Linked DNA regions of Homo sapiens: region 1 is linked to region 2. Evidence: promoter capture Hi-C in 16 types of primary human blood cells and fetal thymus (Javierre and others, 2016). All regions are on one chromosome and are shown on one strand. Each heading gives the region's core, a stretch centred on a gene start or on the middle of the fragment in contact. The rest is flanking DNA. Distances are from core to core; before and after follow the strand shown.

Region 1 (6,129 bases), core at 2,136-4,635, 190 kb before region 2:
TTGGAATGAATTTGCTCTATTTTTCTAGTTTCTTTAAAATTTTTTTTTTTAATTTTTTTTTGAGACTGAGTTTTTGCTCTTGTTGCCCAGGCTAGAGTGCAATGGCGTGATCTCAGCTCATCACAACCTCTGCCTCCCAGGTTCAAGTGATTCTCCTGCCTCAGCCTCTAGAGTAGCTGGGATTACAGGCATGCGCCACCACGCCTGGCTAATTTTGTATTTTTAGTAGAGACGGGGTTTCTCCATGTTTGCCAGGCTGGTCTCAAACTCCTGACCTCAGGTGATCCGCCTGCCTCGGCCTCCCAAAGTGCTGGGATTACAGGCCTGAGCCACCGCGCCCGGCCCCTACATTTATTTTTTTACACCTTTTAGGTCAGAGCAGAAGAACTTGAACATTTTCTAGTTTCTTGAGGTAGAAGCTGAGGTCATTGATTTGAGTTCTTTCTCCTTTTCTAATATGACCATTTAGTGCTATGAGACCACCAGGCCTTGGTGACATTCCTGACCACTGGATAAAGCCTCAGCTGAGGCCAACCTGAATCCAAACCACTAGTTTTCAACGCTCACTACACATTAGAACTACCTGGCAAGCTTCTAAAACTAGCCATGCTTTGGCCCCACCCCAGGCCAATTAAATGAAAATCCCTGGGAATGAACCTCATTACTGGGAGTTGTCAAAGCTCACCAGGTAGTTCTGTTGAGCAGCCAGGACTGGGAATCACCACTCTAGGCCACTGTTTTTCGAACTGTCTGTAATAACAGCAGTTTTCCGTTTCATTTTCAGTTTTATTGTTATTTTATTGACTGATACTTTTGTAACACACAATAAAGATGAATCATATAGCTTCATCCACTGGAGGTATCCTTTATAAAAAGTGGTTCTTCTATGCCTCTTAAACCCAGGTGTTCTCGTTATCCTGTAGCATCATCAACAAGGTAGGAAAGAAGGGTCATGCACGTGGATCTTGCAGCCACATAGATATCTTATCGTGGACCAATAACAGTTTGTGGACCACTGTAGTCCAAGGACTGCACTGCAGCACTGTCAAGCTTTCTTGACTATGAGTCAATAACTTCTTTTTATTGTTTAAAGTAATTTTCAGTTACAAGAGGCAGATTCCAATTGAAGCACTCTATCACAGCCATATCCATCTAGGCTGCAGTCATCGGATGACATGTTGCTCTCTCTTTCTATCTCTCTCTTTCCCACAGGAGAGATGCAGCCATCCCAGAGTATGTGCGTAGTCATGGTTTATTTGATGGTGACTGTGTGATCACTGTGCACTCTCATTCTGGCTCCCTTTCCAGAGCAGCATTAACACAGGTGATACAAACTTCCCTTTCCGCCACTGTTGACACTAAAGGAAATGAGAACATCTGGGTTTAAGAGGTAATGGAAGCACCACTTTTTTTTTTTCATAAAGGAAACCTCTAGAAGTCACATGATTTGGCGGTACCTTTTCTTTTTTCTTTTCTTTTTTTTTGAGACGGAGTTTTGGTCTTGTTGCCCAGGCTGGAGTGCGGTGGCACAATCTCGGCTCACTGCAACCTCCACCTCCCAGGTTCAAGCGATTCTCCTGCCTCAGCCTCCTGAGTAGCTGGGATTACAGGCATCCACCACCACACCTGGCTAATTTTTTGTATTTTTTAGTAGAGATGGGGTTTCACCATGTTGGCCAGGCTGGTCTCAAACTCCTGACCTCAGGTGATCCACCCGACTCGGCCTCCCAAAGTGCTGGGATTACAGGTGTGAGCCACCATGCCCGGCCAAGGAACATTTTCATCTTTTGATCACAAGCTCCTCTTTCAACTTACAAATACGAATTTTAACATACTTGCATTGTTCTTTTTGTTGCTCAAATCATCCTGTATTTGGTCAGAGAGAGCCTTTTCACATGAACCCCTGTGTCCTTTTAATCAGACTCCATAGTGATGATACCTTCCTTGTTCAGCTGCCCCAACCTTGGACTGGCCATTTGGCAGGAGCCCTAGTTTCTTTTAGCAGAGAATGACATACAGAGACCATGATCTAGGCAAGATATATACTTTTTTTTTTTTTTTTTTTTTTTGAGACAGGATCTCACTGTCTCCTTGGCTGGAGTGCATGGCAGTCACGACTTACAACAGCCTTGAACTCCTGGGCTCAAGGGATCCACTAGCTTCAGTCACCTGAGCAGCTGGGACCACAGGCACATACCACCATACCTGACACTCTCTCTCTGTCTCTCTCTATATATATTTGTTGTTGTTTGTTTGTTTGTTTTCGTAAAGACAGGGTCTTTTGTTTTGAGACAGATCTCACTCTGTTGCCCAGGCTGGAGTGCAGTGGCACGATCTCGGCTCATTGCAACCTCCGCCTCTCAGGTTCAAGTGATTCTCCTGCCTCAGCCTCCTGAGTAGCTGGGACTACAGGCACGTGCCACCACGCCCAGCTAATTTTTGTATTTTTAGTAGAGACAGGGTTTCACCATACTGGCCAGGCTGGTCTTGAACTCCTGACCTTGTGATCCACCTGCCTCCGTCTCCCAAAGTGCTGGGATTACAGGCGTGAGCCACCGTACCCGGCCAAGACAGGGTCTTTTTTTATTTTTCATTTTCTCAGCCTGAATATGTTTGTAGACAAGGTCTTGCTATGTTGCCCAGGTTCTACTCTTTTTAAACACAAAAATTACATAATTTTTCAGACAATCTGTTTTGCCATATTGAGAGGCCTTTGCATTAAGTCTGCTAATGCCCTGACAACCACCACATCACTTGGGATTTGGAGTCCCTTTGGGTTAGAGCAGGGTTTCTCAACTTCGGCACTATTGACATGTGGGCTGGATCATTTTGTTCTTTGGAGGCTGTTCTGACACTGCAGGTAGATGCCAGTAGCACCTCCCTAGTTGTGGCAACCAAAATGCCTCCAGACATTGCCCAATACCCCTGGGGGTGCCAAAATCATCCCCCGTTAAGAATCACTGGATGTCCTCTGGGATTCTACGGAAAACTTCCTGGAACAAACCAGAGAAAATCTGACTCCTGATGTCACATCCATGCCAGCTTCCTGCCTCTGTTTCCCCATTTGTCCAGTTGGGATCATGACTACAAGATAAAACAGCATATGGTGGGAAGCAATGGGACCTGCAAGGAGTCATCGTGGTACTCATGAGGAGCAGACATAAGGTCACAAGCAGCACTGCCCTGGAACTGCATGGCACTGTGCTGGCTTTGCCAAGGTGGTAGGGCATCCCACTGAACTGACTCAAGTCCCCAGGATTGCTCCAACTCTTGTATTCCCTCCAGGCCTCTTTTTAATGTTAGCGTTGTTTAAGATCTTTCATTTTACTGTCAAAAAGAGAAAGTCTCATTTAATTCATACCAGATGCTGAGTGAGTCGTCATGAATCAATACAACATTATCCAAAAACCACCAAAATGAATCATAAGGATAAACAGGATTTTTTTCTCCCTGCAAAACAGTGACTAAAATAGTGCCTTGCCCTTTTAGAAAAAAAAAAAAAAAAATCTGAGGTTAGGAGGAGGCCTAGGGCCCTGCTCATGTAATCCACGTGTCCGTGAGCATGGAATGGTTCAACTGCAGGTCCTAGGGAGACAGTGTATGAGGCCTGCAGCTAAGCCAGGCAGACACGGGCTGGAGAAGGTGTCCCAGAGTTAGGATTCAGGAATGGGGGTCCAGCAGCCCCCTGAAACTTATGCAATCCTCTGTTTCCATCCCAGTCTCAAAGCTGTCTGTGACTCAGAGAAGTTTTGTCACCCTCATTATGGATGAAGAGGCTCTTGGGAACTGTGGAGGGTCTTCTGGGAGGTGAGCATCCCAGAATTCTTCTGCTGCTGATAAAGCTAAGGCAGCCCATCAGCCTCATGAGCACTTATTTTCTCAGTCCTTCCTCTACTGTGATCCTGAGAATGCACTCTGAGTATGTAGGGGAGTCAGAAATGGTGTTTGTCCTCTCTGGGGCAGCAGGGAGGCTGGAGAGGGAAGGCTCTGGGCCCACCTAGGCACTCAGACTCTGACCCTTGAATGGAGGAAGCAAAAGCCAAGAAGAGGTTGGGGCTGACACATCTTTACAGTGTGGCCAGATGAGACTCTCAGTTGGTTCCAGCTTCTAGGTCCCCACGGCCTCCCTGTTTTCTGTCTTTTCCAGACCAGGCTCTTCAATTTCCCCTTCCATGTTGTGAGGGACTCCATAGCCTTCTTGTGAATTTCCCTTGGGGTCGGGGGTCAGTGTCTGTTTCTTGCCACCGCAGCACCAGGCTGGTTGTTTCTGTAAGAGGCTCTGAGAGCTGCGCCTCCCACATCCCTCACCTCCCAGACTTGTGCAGGAGTAGTCAGGAACATGCGGAGCTGGAACCACACTCGATGGCACCCACGAGGTCAAGTCAGAAGGGCTCCCTTCTGGTAAGGCAGAATCAGAGCCAAGGAGGCTGAGCGTTCCCTGCAATCACTGCCATCACTGATGAAGGAACTGACTCATCTGATGTGGGCCATTGAGGAATGTGGAGGTTGGACGAGTGACCACTAGGACCTTCAGCAATAGAGAAAATGGAACTGGCTGGGCACGGCGGCTCATACTTGTAATCCCAGAACTTTGGGAGGCTGAGGTGGGAGGATCACCTGAGGTCAGGAGTTCAAGACCAGCCTGGCCAACATGGTGAAACCTTGTCTCTACTAAAAATACAAAAATTGGCTGAGTGTGATGGCACGTGCCTGTAATCCCAGCTACTCCAGAGGCTGAACCAGGAGAATTGCTTGAACCTGGGAGACAGAGGTTGCAGTGAGCTGAGATTGCACCACTGCACTCCAGCCTGGGCAACAGAACAAGACTCCATCTCAAAAAAAAAAAAAGAAGGAACTGTTCCCAGAGATCCTCAGTGCCACTCCAGGTTTCAGCGAAGCTCTGCTGAGGGGCCGGGGTCATGGACCCCAGTGTACACAGGCTCTACTAGGGGATCCTATCGAAGCCCCCTCCCCCGAATGGCCTCCAGGAATCTGTCCTGGCTCCACCTCTGGAACCTTCATTTTCTTACATCTTGCCTGTAGCCATCACCACACTTGGCAACCTACTGTGTGTCACCTAGCTCCCCTACTTATGGGATGACTACTTCAATTCTTCACTCTCTCAAACTTCCAAGGCCCTCCTATCCCCCCCTCACCTCTGGCCTCTGCCCACTAGAGGACCCCCACTAGTAATACCCCTTAGTTGTGACAATCAAAAATGTCTCCAGACGTTGCCAAACATCCCCTCAGGTGGAAAATCACCCTCAGTGAGAACCACTGATCTAGACCAACAGCCAGCCGCTCTCTCTCATGCTTGTGACCCACATCTGGAATGCACACATTTGACTGACCTTCATCTGTCTCTTGATGCAGCCCTTTTTCAAAGCCCAGCATGGCTGGGCATGGTGGCGCACGCCTGTAATCCCAGCACTTTTGGAGGCCAAGCCGGGAGGGTTGTTTGAGCTCAGAAGTTTGAGACCAGCCTAGGCAACATGGTGAAACCCCATCTCCACAAAAAATACAAAAATTAGCCGGGTGTGGTGGTATGCACAGGTGGTCCCAGCTACTCAGGAGGCTGAGATAGGAGGATTGCTTGAGCCTGGGAGTTCAAGAACAGCCTCGGCAATATGGCAAGACCTCATCTCTTAAAAAATAAAAAAAAAAAAAATTAAAAAAACTTGATCACATTTTTCTGGAGGGGAATTTAACAATATTTATCATAAGCTTTAAGTTAATAGTGTAATATAAAATAAGCTGAGCATGGTGGCAGGCACCTGTAATCCCAGCTACTCAGGAGTCTGAGGCAGGAGAACTGCTTGAACCCAGGAGGTGGAGGCTGCAGTGAGCTGTGATTACGCCACTGCACTCCAGCCTGGGCAATAGGGCAAGACTCCGTCTCAAAAAAGAAAAAAAAGAAAAGTTAATAGTGTAATATTATGAACTACTGATACATGAAACATAGGTGAATCCCAAAAACATAATGCTGAGGGAAGAGTACATACACCAGGCGGGTGGCTCACGCCTGTTATCCCAGCACTTTGGGAGGCCAAGGTGGGAGGATCGCTTGAGCCCAGGAGTTCTAGACCGGCCTGGGCAACGCAGCAAGATGACCCATCTCAATTTTTTTTA
Region 2 (7,001 bases), core at 3,394-5,893:
TCGGGAAGCTGAGGTGGGTGGATTCCTTGAGACCAGGAATTCAAGGCCGTAGTATGATCTGATGGCACCTGTGAAGAGCTGCTGCACTCCAGCCTGGGCAACAGAACAATACTGTTTCAGACAAAAACAAAAGAAACCAGAAAAATCAGCATGTACTACTGTGAGAACATAGGTGAACAATTCTTGTCCAAGAAAAAGTCAAATGTGAATCACAGCTGAGCCACCCACATCACGATGGCTGAGTGAATCTGTGTCTGATTTAGCCACAGTTCAGCTCTCTTGTAGAGGCAGAAAGCAGAGCGGTTGAAGTGTGTGTAGGCTTTCTATTCTTATGTCCCAGGTTCAAATCCTGGGTCTTTATTTTCCTTAGTGACTGCGAGTCCAGGCCTCAGTTTCCTAATCTGTGAAACAGGGATCATAACAGCACCTGCCTCAAGGGTTGTTGTGAGCAATATATGAAGCAATCATTATAAGGCATTGAGCACAGAGCCTGAGAGTATGAGCCCGTAAACTCACTGTGAGTTTCAGCTGTTAACTCAAAGCAGCTTTTTGTTGCCAAGTCGCTGGCTAAAGATGCCCAAGGGCTATGGTCTAGAGAGAAGCACCTGAACCCACCTAAGCAGTTGGGTTGGGGGATCCCGCCTGGCTGCTCCGCCAGCTCTTGTCCTGCAGAGGCCCCCACTTCGCAGGTCAGATGTGTGGTTCACCTCCTGTCCAGCCTTCCCAGGCCTGCGCAGGAGCCTACCACCTGCTCACTGGTTTGTAAGTCATTCAGGGGCTGGGCGCTTATAGAGTCACTCAAGGCGGTGACTCACACCTGTAATCCCAGCACTCTGGGAGGCCGAGGCAGGTGGTTCACTTGAAGTCAGGAGTTTGAGACCAGCCTGGCCAACGTAGCAAATGAAAACCCGTCTCTACTAAAAATACAAAAAATTAGCTGGGCGTGGTAGCACATGCCTCTAATCCCAGCTACTCGGGGAGGCTGAGGCAGAGGCTGCAGTGAGCTGAGACCGCACCACTGCACTCCAGCCTGGGTGACAAGAGTGACACTGTCTCAAAAAAAAAAAAAGTCACTGGACTCCCCCAAGCCAGTCCCCTACATTTCACATCAGGAGGGTCACCTATGGTGCCTCCTGCGTCGGGCTGTGGTGGGTTCCCACACGAACCCCCATATCTCTACTCCCCATGGTAGTCAGAGGAGCCTTTAAAAAGGGTAAATTTGCCGGGCACGGTGGCTCACGCCTGTAATCCCAGCACCTCTGGAGGGGGAGGCAGGAGGATTGCTTGAGGCCAGTCTGGGCAACAGAGTGAGAGCCCATCTTTTAAATTAAATTTAAAAATATAAAAATAAAATGGCTGGGCGCGGTGGCTCACGCCTGTAATCCCAGCACTTTGGGAGGCTGAGGCAGGTGGACTGACTGAGGTCAGGAGTTCGAGACCAGTCTGGCCAACATGGTGAAACCCTGTCTCTACTAAAAATACAAAAAAATTAGCCGGGTGTGGTGGTGTGTGCCTGTAATCCCAGCTACTCGGGAGGCTGAGGCAGGGGAATTGCTTGAGCCAGGGAGGTGGAGGTTGCAGTGAGCCGAGATTGCGCCACTGCACTCCAGCCTGGACGACAGAGCAAGACTCCATCTCTAAATAAATAAATAAATAATTTTTATTAAAGGGTAAATCAGTCAAATTTCCAAAAGAATTTTGAGAATCCAGAGCCCATTGCTCTGATAATTAAATTCAACATCTGGACCCAGCTTGGCAAGTGCTCTGTGATCCAGCCCGTTACCTACCTCTCATCTCATCTCTCGGCCATGCTCCAAGAAGTGTCTGCTCCCCAAGTGCATAAGCTCATGCCCCCAGGCCCATGTCCTTGCCTCTCCCTCTGCCTGGGACACTCTTCCTCCAGATCTTTACACTTTTGCCTCTTTTTTCAGCCTCAGCTCAAACATCACCTCCTCCCAGAGGTCTTCCCTGACCACCCCAGGGATAGCAGCCCTCCCGCTTCCCCAGGCACTCCCACATTACCTTCTTTATCATTTTCTTCCAGAGCTCTTAGGATGATCTGAACTTCTCTCATAAACTGGCTTATTCACCTGTGAACTGCCTGCTTCCCTCGCTATAACTGAAGCACTGGAAGAGGTCCTGCACCCAGCAGGCACTCAATGAGTATCTGAGGAATGAGTGAATGAAATGCCCAGTGCACAATCAACCTCCACAAAAGCAGTTTTTCTTTTCACATATAACTCATCGCTATCACAGCCCCTCTCCTTGCTCACCCGCCTCGCTGAGGGGCTCCTGAGAACCTCCGTAGAGGTCTCCATCAGCCAAAAAGCATCTGCACCGTCAGAGAGGGCCCCTCACTGCCGCTCGCAGTGCTCCCTGCTGCCACGTGCAGCCCCTTGAGCATGAGCCTGTTGACACAGGTTGGCACACGGTGTCTGGCTTCTGTAAATGCTCTCTGCTCCCAGGTGTGCCGTGCCCCATTGAAGGACAGCACTCACACTCCTCCAGGTATTAACTGACTTTTTCCCCAGCAATGTTTGTTTTAGGGATTAAAGTTTGTGGAGGAGCCTATAATTTCCAGACTCATCTGTTCCTTTCCTGGCAGCCAGCACATTTGTCATTCTATTTTTCCCAAGTCCCTGATAATACCGTTCCAGACATGTTGATTTGATGGCATCAGTCAACGGAAAGACTCTCTGGGGCCTGCCGTAGGCCAGAGGACAGGCTCTCCGGGCCACACTCAGGGGCGACTGAGCCAACTCTTCACGCCATTCCTTTCCTTCCCTGCCTAGGACGACCTTACAGCCCATGATCGCTTTTCTTCTTCTTCTTCTGTTTGTTTTTTCTTCCTGTTTTCTTTTTAAGTACTACAGTGACCCCTTATTTATTCAGCAAAGAAATGGACTACTCCACAGTAGTGAATTTTCAAAATAATGCCCTTCAAGCACTAAAACTTTAAACAACACATCTTCAAAACAGCTTTGCTGAGGTATAACTGACACACTATAAACGGCATGGATTTAAAGTGTACAACTTGATATGTTTTGATATATGGACACACCCATGAAACCATCACCACAATCAAGATAATGAACATGTCCATCATTCCCAAAAGTTTCCTCCCGCCCCTCCCTGCCCCCTTCCCCAAGCAAGCACTGATCTGTTTTCCAAATACGTCTTTAATGCTACAAGGGCTCACACACCTCCCCACCTTAGAAAATGGAGTATGATCAACATGATTGATCCTTTCCTTGATTCAGCATTATCACCAACACGATGGAAAGTGATCTCAGATGTCATGAGGATGCATGATTGTTTGCCCTGATCACTAAACGGCCCATTGTTGTGCTGGCATACTGGGCAGTTTCAAGTTTGGGAGTTTTCTCCCTCACTGCTAGCTGTCTCAGAGCTTAGTTCCCAGCAGACAACTCTTGCTGCCTCGAACCCTGGCACACTAACCACCATCCTGTGACGTTCCCACTCCTCATTCTGCGACAGTGGTTCTTTGCTGGGAGAGATTTTTGTCTCCCAAGGGACATTTGGCAATACCTGGAGATCTTTTTGGTTGTCATCATGGGAGCGGGAATGCTACTAGCAGCTAATGTTTAGTGACTAGGGATGCGACTGAACATCCTGCAATGTAGAGTGCAGTGTCCCCTACAGAGAATTATCCGACCCAAGATGTTGATAATGCCAAGGTTGAGAAACCCTGTTCAGGATGACAAACTGATTGAAAACTCAACAAGGGGACCGGGCGTGGTGGCTCACGCCTAATAATCCCAGCACTTAGGGAGGCCGAGGTGGGTGTATCACTTAAGGTCAGGAGTGCGAGACCAGCCTGGCCAACATGGCAAAACCCCATCTCTACTAAAAATACAAAAAAAAAAAAAAAAAATACGAGTGGCGTAAGCCTGTAATCCCAGCTACTTGGGAGGCTGAAGCATGAGAATCGCCTGAACCCAGAAGGCAGAGGTTGCAGTGAGCTGTGATCAGGCCATTGCATTCCAGCCTGGGCAACAGAGCGAGACTCTTGTCTAGAAAAAAAAAAAACAAACCCATAAAACAAACAAACAAAAAAAACTATGAGGATTGAGTGATTCACATTTCTGAATCGAGAGAGAGAAGGATGGGCAGCAGGCTTGTTGAAGCTGGAAGGCCAGGGAGGTCGCAGACTGAGGAAGACCCTGGTGTGTCCCAGGTACCTCCATGCAACCCTACTAGAGAGGTGGTCTCTGGCTTCCTATGGACAAGCTCTAAGGGACCCAGCTATGGGGCACCAGAGCCCAGCGTTCAGCAGCTGCTCAATGAATGTCTGCCAGGCGAGACTGCACCCAAAGCATTTATTAGGTACATAATTGTGGCAGCACTGGCTGGCCATGGAAGGCAAGGCAGAACACAAGGAGCTGGAGCTGGCGGAAGGAAGTCATTAAGTCAGCCAGTGGCTGGGATGCAGCAAAGCCAGGCAGAAGGTAAGTGCAGACCCACCCCAATAAATGAGGAAAATGAGAAGGGCTGGCTGGCCATGTTAGGATCCAGTTCCAGTGCGACCAGATATGTCACCACCACATCACTTTTAGCTCCTCCCCCCACCCACAGACACCCTGTTTGCCTGTCATATAAAGAAGGTTTTCCCAAAGTGGTTTAGCCAGAACTGGAAGGGCCCCGCCCTGTGAAGGGATAGGAGCCTGACTGTTGCAGCTGCAGTGAGTGGCGGGGAAGCAGCAGCGGCCAGGATGAATCCCAGGTGCTCTGGAGCTGGATGGTGAAGTATGGACATGCTTTATTCGATTTTGCATTGACTTAAAGGTTTAATTATTTTAGGAGTTCTTGTAGACATTCCTGAAAAATGCAGGTAGGCAAAAAGAAGAAAACAAAGATCGCAAATGTGACCCTTTCATTCGGAGAGAACACCAATGGAATTTTGTTGTGCACCCTTCTATGCACGTCTGAATGTTGTGTAGACATTCTGCTTACAACTAGGTGTGGGTGCTGCTGCCGAAGGCTTTATTTGCTGTGCCTGAGGTGGACCAGAGATTTCAGAGAAGACTCCCAGAGCACCCCAAGGAGACAACAGGAGTGCTTGGAGTCAGGATGACTGGGTGGATTTAGGACTATGTGATTCTCAGGAGCCTCTCTGGATTAGCCCCAAATCAAGGATAAAGAGAGGCCTAGCTGGACTCTTCCTCCCAGAGCCCTGCTGGGAAAATGGAGCCCCTTTACAGCCCCCACTTACCCATCAGGCCCTGCTCCTCTCACTCATCTCCAGACTTCTGTCACATGCCCAAGTCCTGCTAACTGCTGTGTAAAACTGGTAAGGTGGGATCCAGAGGACCTTGGGCCCCTAGGGCCCCAGGTCAGGAGACCTGGGCTCCAGGGCCAGTTGAGAGTGATAAAGAGAACAATACCTGCCCACAGGACTTGTTGCAATGAGATAAAGGCAGAAGTCACCAGTTGTGGTCAAATGGGATTTTTTTCCAGAGAAGTCTCACAGAGAGTGGCTTTCAAATTCTTTTTAGCAGCAGAATTGTTGTAAAATACAATCTCATGTGAAACCCTAAAATGTGAGACACTCTGGGTGAAGCAGAGAGAGGTGCTCAACTGCCCAATCCTGTCCTCATTCCTCCCTCTCAGGGAGGCACCTCTGAGAACCCACTTTAAAGAATTTTGCCTTATGCAGATTGAAGAGGCAAGCTGGCTGGAAGAAACTGGGAAGCTCCACTTCCCACCGCCTCTGCCTGGGTGGCAGTCATCTGAGCCTAGGCTAGCCCCTCCCCCTCCAAAGACCCACTGCGGGCTCCCCTGGGGCCAGTCTCCAGGATGGGTGGGGCACCTGAAGCAGCAAGTATTGCTATTTTTCTGGGCTGACCTTTCTTCTAGGCCTGAGGACAAGTGGGTAGGTGGGGCCAGCCCTGTCCCTGTTTCCCCTCAATGGAGTTCTCTTGCTCACAGCCTAAGGAAGAAGCGTGAGTCACTTCCTGCCTCAGTCTGACTGCTGGAGTATTGTTCTCCCAACTGTGGCTGGCGCTACCCAGTGTGGCCCCTACAAGTCTTAGTTCCTTGGCGGAGGGGAAGTCCCCACTTTGGGACAAGGCCAACTGGACTTATCTTCCCGCTCAACTTTGAGGACCCAGCATTGTTCCTCCAGTTTCCAGTTCTTGCAGTGTTTGTAAAGGTGCCCGAATCGTACCTGATCCCATTCACTAAATATTATCTCCATTTTATAGAGGGGTAAATTGAGGAAGTCCCTGAGAAATTAACTTGTCTAAGGTGTCCCAGCAAAAAATAGTGCCCCAGGGATTTGAACCGGTTTGCTGATTGATTTTTCACCAGTTGCCTTAAGAATTATCATGATTTAACCTCTCTGGGCCTCAGTTTCCTCCTCTATAAAATGCAGACAGTGATACATCAAAGGTACTTAAAGGAAAATGTACTGTACCCACCTCATGGGGCATGTGGTGAGGATAAAACGGGTTGACACAGGAAAAGAGCTCTCAATGGTGCCTGGCTCATAGAAAACACTCAGTGGATTTTTTTTTTCCCATTACCCGGGAACCTGTGTTAAGGAGGCCACAGGCTGATCCTGTGCAGCCAGGTTATCTCACAGGGAGCGAGAAGAGATGGGCACAGGCTACTCTGCGACCTTGGAATAACCCAGCCTGGGAAGCTCCTGGCCACATTTTCCTTCTTTTCTTTCTCAGCTCAAGCAGCGTCGGCCTCAGCCAAGTAGCACAAACGTTTTCTAGGGCCCAGGGAGGGAGAGGCTCCGGCTGGTATATTGCAAGTAGCTTGGATTCAGGCTCTGCCAAACACCCCAGTCTCTTGCAGGATCTGAGGTCTGCTGGTTGTGGGACTTTGCGCAAATTATTTAAACGTTGTGCGCCTCAGTTTCCTTATCTGTAAAATGGGATTAATAATCTCAGCCTGAAAGGATTATGTGGATTAAATCATGTACATAAGAAGGAGATAATGTAAAGTGACTGGCCTGGTGCCTGGCAAGCGGT

The links. The method cuts DNA at HindIII sites, captures the fragments that hold promoters and counts their contacts. A CHiCAGO score of 5 or more calls a contact.
Region 1: a contact is called between a fragment that was not itself captured here and the fragment with the promoter of FURIN in region 2, in 1 of 17 cell types (monocytes). The highest score is 5.5, in monocytes.

The regions. Positions count from the first base shown.
Region 1 is chr15:90,677,257-90,683,385 of GRCh38, forward strand. All of the region lies in intron 2 of CRTC3-AS1 (CRTC3 antisense RNA 1), which reads right to left. Among named protein-coding and RNA genes, the nearest start is that of LINC01585, 20 kb to the left of the region's middle. RefSeq lists enhancers at 825-884, 5,801-6,129. The HindIII fragment of the contact is 4,674 bases long and covers 1,049-5,722 here.
Region 2 is chr15:90,863,945-90,870,945 of GRCh38, forward strand. It overlaps FURIN (furin, paired basic amino acid cleaving enzyme), which reads left to right and starts at 4,644. Exons shown (of 16, transcript NM_002569.4): 1 at 4,644-4,767. RefSeq lists enhancers at 5,176-6,375, 5,618-5,667, 5,735-6,029, 5,768-5,877, 5,815-6,109. The HindIII fragment of the contact is 27,514 bases long and covers 1-7,001 here.